Regions from separate parts of the Homo sapiens genome. Here all the other regions are linked to region 1. The links are contacts of gene promoters, found by promoter capture Hi-C in blood cells and fetal thymus (Javierre and others, 2016). All regions are on one chromosome and are shown on one strand. The core of a region is centred on a gene start or on the middle of the fragment in contact, and the rest is flanking DNA. Distances in the headings are between cores, read along the strand shown.

The links. The method cuts DNA at HindIII sites, captures the fragments that hold promoters and counts their contacts. A CHiCAGO score of 5 or more calls a contact.
Region 2: a fragment that was not itself captured here is called in contact with the fragment with the promoter of SLC11A2 in region 1 in 1 of 17 cell types (megakaryocytes); the score reaches 5.6 in megakaryocytes.
Region 3: a fragment that was not itself captured here is called in contact with the fragment with the promoter of SLC11A2 in region 1 in 3 of 17 cell types (megakaryocytes, M1 macrophages and erythroblasts); the score reaches 7.6 in megakaryocytes.

The regions. Positions count from the first base shown.
Region 1 is chr12:51,024,280-51,027,661 of GRCh38, forward strand. SLC11A2 (solute carrier family 11 member 2) reads right to left here and starts at 2,105. Exons shown (of 16, transcript NM_000617.3): 1 at 2,031-2,105. RefSeq lists enhancers at 1,065-1,678, 1,679-2,290 and silencers at 1,696-1,755, 1,766-2,485. The HindIII fragment of the contact is 11,669 bases long and covers 533-3,382 here.
Region 2 is chr12:51,261,125-51,264,462 of GRCh38, forward strand. The region is part of intron 2 of SMAGP (small cell adhesion glycoprotein); the gene reads right to left. Among named protein-coding and RNA genes, the nearest start is that of SMAGP, 7.6 kb to the right of the region's middle. The HindIII fragment of the contact is 2,774 bases long and covers 320-3,093 here.
Region 3 is chr12:50,779,957-50,783,226 of GRCh38, forward strand. ATF1 (activating transcription factor 1) reads left to right here. Exons shown (of 7, transcript NM_005171.5): 2 at 184-282. The coding sequence starts at 190. Among named protein-coding and RNA genes, the nearest start is that of ATF1, 17 kb to the left of the region's middle. The HindIII fragment of the contact is 3,767 bases long and covers 1-3,270 here.

The DNA.
Region 1 (3,382 bases), core at 855-3,354:
ATATCTGTCAGCAGACATTTGTACGTATGTGCATGGTGAGGAGGCAGAGAATAAAGATGTCTTTGATTCAACAACACTCACCCAAATTCTTAGCAATGAAAGTCAAACAAGAAAGATCTGGCAGGGCGCGGTGGCTCACACCACCCCAGCACTTCGGAAGGCCGATACAGGTGGATCACTTGAGGTCAGGAGTTCCAGACCAGCCTGGCCAACATGGTGAAACCCCGTCACTACTAAAAATACAAAAAAAATTCGCCAGGCATCAAGAGGCTGAGGCAGGAGAATCGCTTGAACCCGGGAGGCAGAGGTTGCAGTGAGCCGAGATCGCGCTATTACATTCCAGCCTGGGCAACAAGAGCGAAACTCCGTATCAAAAAACGAAAGAAAGAAAGAAAAAGATCCTACTTTGTAGATATAATTCTCTAACCTTCACTGAGTCATAACTGAACCAAAGCTGCCTACTAGCTTTGTAGAGTAATCCAAGGGACCACTGCTGATTTCCTAACATTAGAGTAAGATTAGATTCATAAGAAGCTTCCCCATTCCTTAACAAGAAGTGCTGCCAGGCTACCCAGAAATTCCCCTCCCGAGTCCCACTGCCATTCCGGAAACATGAGAAACCAAGTATGCTGCAATCATGGCCTTTTTAGTACTGGCTCCAAAATAAACTGAGTAGGCCAAGCAAGACTGTCAATGAAATACTGTCCAATGAAAAAATAAACAGCCGAAGGTTTCAGGTTTCATTTACCCAACACAGGTATCACAATAAATGACCTAGTATAATGATAGTTTCCAACCGTATTTAATAAAACAAACACGCAGCAGAAATCCTCTAGTCACATATAACTACACTATACCCTCAGATCAAAGTTAATGATGTCAATGGAAAGTATAGGCCGGCGGGTTCACTGGTGATAAGTCATGAGACTCTGAGCAAAGAATAAGTAATAAGGTTAGAATTCTTTAGAAGTGTTAAGGGGAAAGAAGGTAACAACAACAAAAACTCCTCCACATCAAGAGTTCTAAGTACTTTGTTGTTTATTAACTAATTTCATACCAACAACCCTGTAAGACTGATATTATCAATCCCCATTTTAAGTACGTGGAACAAAAGAAGAAAGAGGCAAACAACATGCTCAAAGATTTACAAAGCCAAGAAATCATGCGAACTGGTGGGGCTTCGGGTTCCAGAAGTCAGTGTAAACATAGCTTCTCCATTTTTCACCAACAGTCACTAAAATTGAGGCCAGCAAGTTTTTAGAAGCCTATCTCCCCTTGCAAACTCTCCTTCCATATAATTTTTGCTTTTGCAAGAGATGTCACATTTAAGCGGTAGCTTTAAAAGTGGGGACACATGAAACGCACAGCTGGGAGAGCCATCCAGCCCACTTACATATGTGCAATATCCCCCTGTAGAAAAACCCTGCTCATTGGAGCCTGGAATCCAGAGGGTCCCTGAGAGCTACACAAACAGCCTTAAAACCAATCTACCCACAATTACTGAGCCGCGTATGCAGGCTATTCACACAGAAGGCGCTCCCTGAAGTCGGTTAGGTTATAATGAGTCTTTTGTTGAAGCGGGGCGGCGGGAGGCCCCGGAGAGCAGCCCGGCCCCCTGCGGCGCCGACGAAGAGGCCACGAAAGACCTTGCCCTGTGCCCGTCGGCCTCTTTCGAGGCGTCGAAGCAGGTCAGCGCACCCCGACACAGGCCGGGCGCGCCATCCGGTGCAGCTGGGAGCTGGGCCATGTGTCCTAGGCCGCGGCGGGGAAGGGGCGAGACCCCCGCGACCTCCGGCGTTCCCTCCCTGCCCCCATCTTTGGGTCTTTCTCTGAATGGCGCGACTCCATCAGTCCTGGACTCTGGGCCTGAGGCCCTCCCTGGCCACACCTCCCCTCACAGCCCCGCACGGCGAGCCGGTGTCGCATCCTAGCCCCGGAGCCTGACCCCCGACACAGGCCCTCGAGCCGCCCCGCGCCCCTCCCTGCCAGCGAGCGGAATGCCGTGACCCCTGACCTTGCCTTCCCCTCACCTTACCAGCTCCGCAACCACCTGACACGCCGCCCCCGCGCCCAGGGCTCCATATTCCGGGAGCCAGCGCCACGCTGGCTAACGCCCTCCCCTCCCCGCGATTGGTCGACAGGACGGCAGCCGCACATCCCTATTGGCTGGAGTCCCTGCAGCGGCCGGGATGCGTGGCCCGCAGACCAGGGACCTAGGCTCCGCCCACGCGGAGTCTGGATGCGGCGGCCCCTGGGGCACGCGGCGGCCCCTGGGGCACCCGGCGGGAGCTGCATGCTGCCTAGTTGCTGCTTGCGTTGGCCAGACCCACACAGCCCCTGGACTGGGGAGCTCCAGTCCGCTAGCAGTCTGGGGACAGATAAGATTCCTGCCCTAGTTCGCCGTGGCGCCACGTTAGGTACTGACAATCAAGCTACGAGGTATAGCTCTATCCTGTAAAGGGTAGCCAGGCCAGGCGCGGAGGCTCACACTTGTAATGCCCAGCACTTTGGGAGACCGAGGCGGGAGGATCACTTGAGTCCAGGAGTTCGATACCAGCCTGGGCAACATAGTGAGACCCGGTCTCTACAAAAAATTTTAAAATTAGCCAAGCAAAGGCCGGGCGCGGTGGCTCACGCCTGTACTCCCAGCACTTTGGAGGGCCCAGGCGGGCGAATCACCTGAGATCGGGAGTTTGAGACCAGCCTGACCAACATGGAGAAACCCCGTCTTTACTAAAAATACAAAATTAGCCGGGCGTGGTGGCGCATGCCTGTAATCCCAGCTACTCGGGAGGCTGAGGCAAGAGAATCGCTTGAACCCGGGAGGCGGAGGTGCAGTGAGCCGAGATCGCGCCATTGCACTCCAGCCTTGGAAACAAGAGCGAAAACTCCGTCTAAAAAAAAAAAAAAATTAGCCAGGCATCACGGCGCCCGCCTGTGGTCCCAGCTACTCGGGGGCTGAGGTGGGAGAATCACTTGGGCCTGGGAGGTGGAGGCTGCGGTGAGACAAGATCGTGCCACTGCACTCCAGCCTGGGTGGCAGAGCAAAACCCTGTCTCAAAAAAAAAGGATAGCCACCTGGAAGGAACATTTCCTCGCGCCCCCAGAGCCACATCATAGTATCTGCTGCCCCACCAAGAGCACCCCACACCTGGGAGGAACCGAGAAACATCAGCTAGTGCAGCCAGTTTGACCGCCTTAGGTGTCCTCCCAAGCCTCCGTAGTGAATTGTTTTCCTCCTCGCCCAGCTGACTCGATTCTCCCCAGACTTCATCCTACCTACCCAAAAGCAATCCCACTCTATCGCCAGTTTCAGCCTCACACCGTATCTTTTGCTCTGAAGATGAGACTGCCAAACTGGTGAAGAGGGAATAAATGGCCT
Region 2 (3,338 bases), core at 457-2,956, 240 kb after region 1:
TCACTCTGTCACCTGGGCTGGAGTGCAGTGGCTCAATCTTGGCTCACTGCAACCTCCGCCTCCCAGGTTCAAGCGATTCTCCTGCCTCAGCCTCCCAAGTAGCTGGGATTACAGGCACCCGCCACTATGCCCAGCTAATTTTTTGTATTTTTAGTAAACACAGGGTTTCACCATGTTGGCCAGGCTGGTCTCGAACTCTTGACCTTGTGATTTGCCCACCTCGGCCTCCCAAAGTGCTGGGATTACAGGCATGAGCCACCACACCCGGCCTGGGTGTCACAATTTTGAAGTGAGCAGGCAAACCATGTCAGATAAGGAAAGCTTGCAAGAGAAAGCCCAGAGAAAAAAAAGGGAGCCTAGAGCTTGAATTCTGTCTTCTAATATGCCAAGGCATGACCTGTACAAGAGAACTAACAGCAGAAACTGGGAAAGACAGATGTCTCCCCAACAGAAGGAAGAGCAAAACTGGACAAAAGCTACGTAGCATCTTGGAGAGAGAATTCTAGGACAGAATGGTTAGTTGAACTAGCTGAGCATCAGAACCCCTCTCAGCCTTAATTTTTGAATTTTTATAAATGGAAAGTGTTCTATTAGAATTCTCATTAAAATCAAATTTTAAAATAAAAAATCCAGACATACTTAGAATGTCTATCTGGAGAGGAATGATGAAATAAATTACAGGCCATCCATTGTGGAAACAGTTGCTAAAACGAATATGAGATCTACAATATTACTGGGACAGGATACATGGTTAGATGAAAAAAGCAAACTGCCAGGTGGTATATGTAGTAGGACTGCATCTTTGTTTAAAAAAAAAAAAAAAAGTAAATTGGCAGAGTGCAGTGGCTTACACCCATAATCCCAGCACTTTTGGAGGCTGAGGTGGGAGGATTGCTTGAGGCCAGAAGTTTGAGTCCAGCCTGGGCAACATAGCGAGACCCCTGTCTCTCTGTGTATTTTTTTTTAAGTAACTTTAAAAAACCCTATAAATATGCATATATATGTTTGTACATAGAAAAGGTCTAGAAAGCTGTTCTCTGAGGGGCATGTATTACCTTTCAAATAAAAGAACATGCTTGGCAAGGTGGCTTACACCTATAATCCCAGCAATTTGGGAGGCTGAGGCCAGAGGATCACTTGAGTCCAGGAGTTCAAGACCAACCTGGGCAACATGGCAAAACCCTGTCTCTACAAAAAATACAAAAATTAACTGGGCATGGTGGCACGCACCTGTGATCCCAGCTACTTGGGAGGCTGAGGTGGGAGGATCACCTGAGTCTGGGAAGGTTGAGGCTGCAGTGAGCTGTGATTGAGCCACTGCTCTACAGCCTGGGTGAAACTGAGGCCCTGTCTCAAAAAAAGAAAAAAAGGACAAACAACAACAAAATAAACTAAGTTCAGGAAAGCTGGCATAAAAGGAGGAAATGGCTTATAGCTTTTCCCCCATTCTCTCCCGTTTCTACCCCATTTTTTTGTCCAAACAAAGGAATAATTATTAAATAGCACTACAGTCTTTCCAAACCTTCCCTGCTCAGGTTCATAAGATTGAAGGCCCCACCCAAGTCCTAACCAATAGCAAATGACCTTCAAGATCTATTCTGTTCACTTACTCTTTTTTTTGTTAACCCAGATACTGGCTGGCTTCTTTGTGGTCCTTGTTCCCAGCTTGAGCTAAATCTCTTATCACTGAGGCATCAGATCTTTTGCCACCTAAGTCTGCCAGCCTACTTATTTGCTCTAGACCTGCCCAGCAGAGGGCGGCTCCCCGAGTTCTTTCCATGGGAAGCCACCCTGGGACTCGGCCCCCTTTCTTCTGCCTTCTCTTTCATGTGCACCAGCCAGTTGGGTGGAGTGAGACCTTGGGAGCAGTACACCATGACAGAAAGAACACAGGCTTGCAGTAAATCAGACTTGGCGCAAAATCCTGCCTCTGCCATTACTAGCTGTGTGACCTTGGGAAATTTTTTTAATCTTTGAAAATTTAACGGTGACTCATGCCTGTAATCCCGGCACTTTGGGAGGTCGGGGTGAGTGAATCACTTGAGATCAGAAGTTCGAGACCAGTCTGGCCAACATGGTGAAACCCTGTCTCTACTAAAAATACAAAAATTAGCTGGGCATAGTGGTGGGCGCCTATAGTCCCAGCTACTCGGGAGGCTGAGGCAGGAAAATTGCTTGAACCCGGGAGGCAGAGGTTGCAGTTAGCCGAGATTGCACCACTACACTCCAGCCTGGGTGACAAGTGGGAAATTCCATCTCAAAAAAAAAAAAAGAAAAGAAAATTCCTTAACTCCCCTGAACTTCAGTTTTTCCTTCCGTAAAATGAGACTAAAACTTGTTTCATTGGGTTGTGGTGAGGAATAAGTGCAATGAAAAATGCTGCTTTGGGAGGCTGAGATGGGAGGATCACCTGAGGCCAGGAGTTTGAGACCAGACTGGGCAACACAGTAAGACCTTATTTCTACAAAAAATTATTTTTAAAATAAAATAAAGAAAAATGCTAAGTGTCTAATACAGGGTGAGGACAACCTAGGCGGTAGCTGGTGTGATCATTTGGTGGCAAGAGATGAGCTTTACCTGGCACGGTGGGCAAAGCCCACAAGGCACAGTTCCACTCTGCCCTACTTCGAATAGGGCTGACTTATGCACTAGGCACAACAGGCACAGTGCCCTGGGCCCACAATGCTTCGAAAGGCCCATGAAAATGTTTTAAATAATTTTCATTTCTTTTATAATTAGAAGAAGGAAAAGAAACAAAATTTTAGGTCAAAGAAATATTAAGGTTGTTATGCCATTCAATTACTAATTATAAATATTAATTATATTATATTATATTCTTCCTTACACTGATGCAGTTGTAAAATATGATTTTTAATATTTTTTTAAGTGAAGGAGGAGCCCACAAAGACAGAAGTGCCCAGGGCTCAGGAGTCATAATGTGGCCCTTCCTTTCAAGGTTCCTGGAGGATATCTTCTCTAGGAAGTCTTTATAGACTGTGAGGGAGGAATAGGTGGGAAGGTGGGGGAAGAGAAATGCAAGACAGGGGTAGAAGAGAAGAGCTGGCCTTTAGTGATCCCATCATTTAAAGTATAAGCTTTCTTCCTATCTGTGATTTCTATTCTTTTGTCTATTGCTGTCTCTGAACTTACACTTGCTTGGACCCAGTGGATAGGAGACTGTCCTAAATCACTACTTCACTCATGTCACTCGCTGGATCAAGAATGCAGCCAGGTGAGGTGGCTTGCGCCTATAATCTCAACAACTCAGGGGCAGAGGAAGGAGCATGGCTTCAGGCCGGGAGAGTTGCCTGAGCAACATAGCAAAACCCTATCTCTAC
Region 3 (3,270 bases), core at 205-2,704, 240 kb before region 1:
TTTTTGTGGGCCAAAATTCAAAAAATTTAAAGAAAATGCACAGTCCCCTTTCTATCTCTATACCATTGCTACCAGTTCTTTTCCATTGAGGCAACTAAATGATCAATTTTTATATGATTCTATAGTATACTGTAAACATTCTGTATCATATTTAATTTTAACGGACTTTTTTCCCCCTTATAGTTGATTATGGAAGATTCCCACAAGAGTACCACGTCAGAGACAGCACCTCAACCTGGTTCAGCAGTTCAGGGAGCTCACATTTCTCATATTGCTCAACAGGTAAGGGAGGGACTGGCCAAAATACTGAGCTTGTTAGGAATATTTTATATGCAGATTAATCTCGTTTCAGACTGATTATTAATGTGTTTTATTTTGGTTTTTGTTTTTTGGGTTTTTTTTTTCGAGGCAGATTTTTGCTCTAGTTGCCCAGGCTGGAGTGCAGTGGCATGATCTCGGCTCACTGCAACCTCCACCTCCTGGGTTCAAACAATTCTCCTACCGCAGCCTCCCAAGTAGCTGGGACTACAGGCATCTGCCACCACGCCTGGCTATTTTTTGTATTTTTAGTAGAGATGGGGTTTTACCATGTTGGCCAGGCTGGTCTCGAACTCCTGACCGCAGGTAACCCACCCACCTTGGCCTCCCAAAATGCTGGGATTACAGGTGTGAGCCACCAGACCTGGCATTAATGTTAAAAAAAAAAAAAAACAAAACAAGCAAAGGCCAGGCGCAGTGGCTCACGCCTGTAATCCTAGCACTTTGGGAAGTCAGGGCGGGCGGATCACGAGGTCAAGAGTTCAAGACTAGCCTGACCAACATGGCGAAACCCTGTCTCTAATAAAAATCAAAAATTAGCCAGGTGCAGTGGCGGTTGCCTGTAATCCCAGCTGCTCGGGAGGCTGAGGCAGGAGAATCGCTTGAGCCTGGGAGGTGGAGGTTGCAGTGAGCACAGACTATGCCACTGCACTCCAGCCTGGGCAATAGAACGAGACTCCATATCATAAAAATAAATAAATAAAAAATAAAATAGAAAAACAAGCAAAAAAGACTGTATAAAATGTTAAAATATAAGAAAAGAAGGTGGACTTTAAATATCTTGTCAAGATCATTTAGTTTTATTTTCTTTTAAACGAAGTATATAGTCATCTCTCAGTATCTGTGGGAGACTGGTTCCAGGACGTCCACAGATACCAAGATCTGTGATGCTTAAAGCCCCTGATAGAAAACGGCATGGTATTTATATATAACCTACATATTTTCCTGTATACTTTAAATCATTTCTAGATTACTTTTAATACCTAATACTATGTAAATGCTATGTGAATAGTTATACTATATGACAAGAAAAACAGTCGGTACATGTTCAGTATAGAGAAATTTTTTTTCCTGAATATTTTCAATCTGTGGTTGGTTGAATCCACAGATGTGAAACTCATGGATGCAGAACCCATGAATAAAGAGGCCTAACTGTATTTAGAGTTGTTTTCTTTGTTTTTGTTTTTGTTTTTCAAGGCAGGGTTTCGCTCTGTCGCTCAGGCTGGAGTGCAGTGGTACGATCTCGGGTCACTACAACCTCCGCCTCCCGGGTTCAAACGATTCTCCTGCTTCAGCCTCCCGAGTAGCTGGGATTACAGGCGCCCACCACCACACCCAGCTAATTTTTTGTATTTTTGGTAGAGACGGGGTTTCACCTGTTGGCCAGACTGGTCTCAAACTCCTGACCTCAGGTGATCCACCCACCTCAGCCTCCCAAAATGCTGGGATTACAGGCGTGAGCCACCGTGCCCGGCCAAAAAATTTTAAAAATTAGCTGGGTGTGGTGGCACTACAACACCTGTAGTAACAGCTACTTGGCTGAAGCAGGAGGATTGTTTGAGCCCAGGAGTTCAAGGCAGCAGTGAGCTATAATCATGCCACTGCACTCCAGCCTGGGTGACAGAGTGAGACCCTATCTCCAAAAAAAAAAAAAAAAAAATCATGCATGAGTGTAAGAGCCATTTAAAGTGCAAGATGAGACTAACGGATTTTAATGTTAACAATACACAAAGTTCAGACTGTACATGGCAAATAACCTTTAAGAAACTATAACTTGCTGAGTTTTGCTGCTGTATCAAAGAATACAATGAAATGAAAAGGCTTTTAAAACACTACACATCTTTTCTAATTGCATATCTATGTGAGGGCAGATTTTCTTCATATAATTCAACCAAAACAATGTATGATAACATAATTAATGTAGAATCAGATAAGAGATTTCAGCTGTTTTCTTTTTCTGTTTTTTTTGTTTGTTTGTTTATTTGTTTGTTTGTTTTTTGAGACAGTGTCTCGCTCTGTCGCCCAGGCTGGAGTGCAGTGGCGCGATCTCGGCTCACTGCAACCTCCGCCTTCCAGGTTCACGCCATTCTCCTGCCTCAGCCTCCCGAGTAGCTGGGACTACAGGCGCCCGCCACCACGCCCGGCTAATTTTTTGTATTTTTACTAGAGACAGGGTTTCATCGTGTTAGCCAGGATGGTCTTGATCTCCTGACCTCGTGATCCACCCGCCTCAGCCTTCCAAAGTGCTAGGATTACAGGCCTGAGCCACCACACCCGGCCTTTTTTTTTTTTTTTTTTTTAGTAGAGACAGAGTCTCACTATGTTGCCCAGGCTGGTGTCAAACTCCTGGGCTCAAGTGATCCTCAGCATCCCAAAGTGCTGGGATTATAGGTGTGAGCCACTGTGGCCAGCCTTTTTTTTTTTTTTTTTTTTGAGACGGAGTCTTGCTCTGTCGCCCAGACTGGAGTGCAGTGGTGCGATCTTGGCTCACTGCAACCTCTGCCTCTTGGGTTCAAGTGATTCTCCTGCCTCACCCTCCCGAGTAGCTGGGAATACAGGTGCCCACTGCCACGACCAGCTAATTTGTGTATTTTTAGTAGAGGTGGGGTTTCACCATATTGACCAGGCTGGTCTTGAACTCCTGACGTCAAGTGATCCACCCACCTTGGCCTCCCAAAGTGCTGGGATTACAGGCATGAGCCACTGCACCCGGCTGATTTCAGCTGTTTTCTATTAAGCCAGATATTAAGGAAATTTGCAGAAATGTAAAACAATGCCATTTCTCTCACTAATTTTTTTTGAAAATGTATTAATGGAAATAGGTATGGTAACGTGTAATGGATTGTTATTGTATTTTGAAATGAACTGCTAATTTTTTAAATTTAATTTTAAATATGGTAAGTATTAATAAATATAACTGAAATAATAATTTTGGGGGGTCCTCAATAAGTT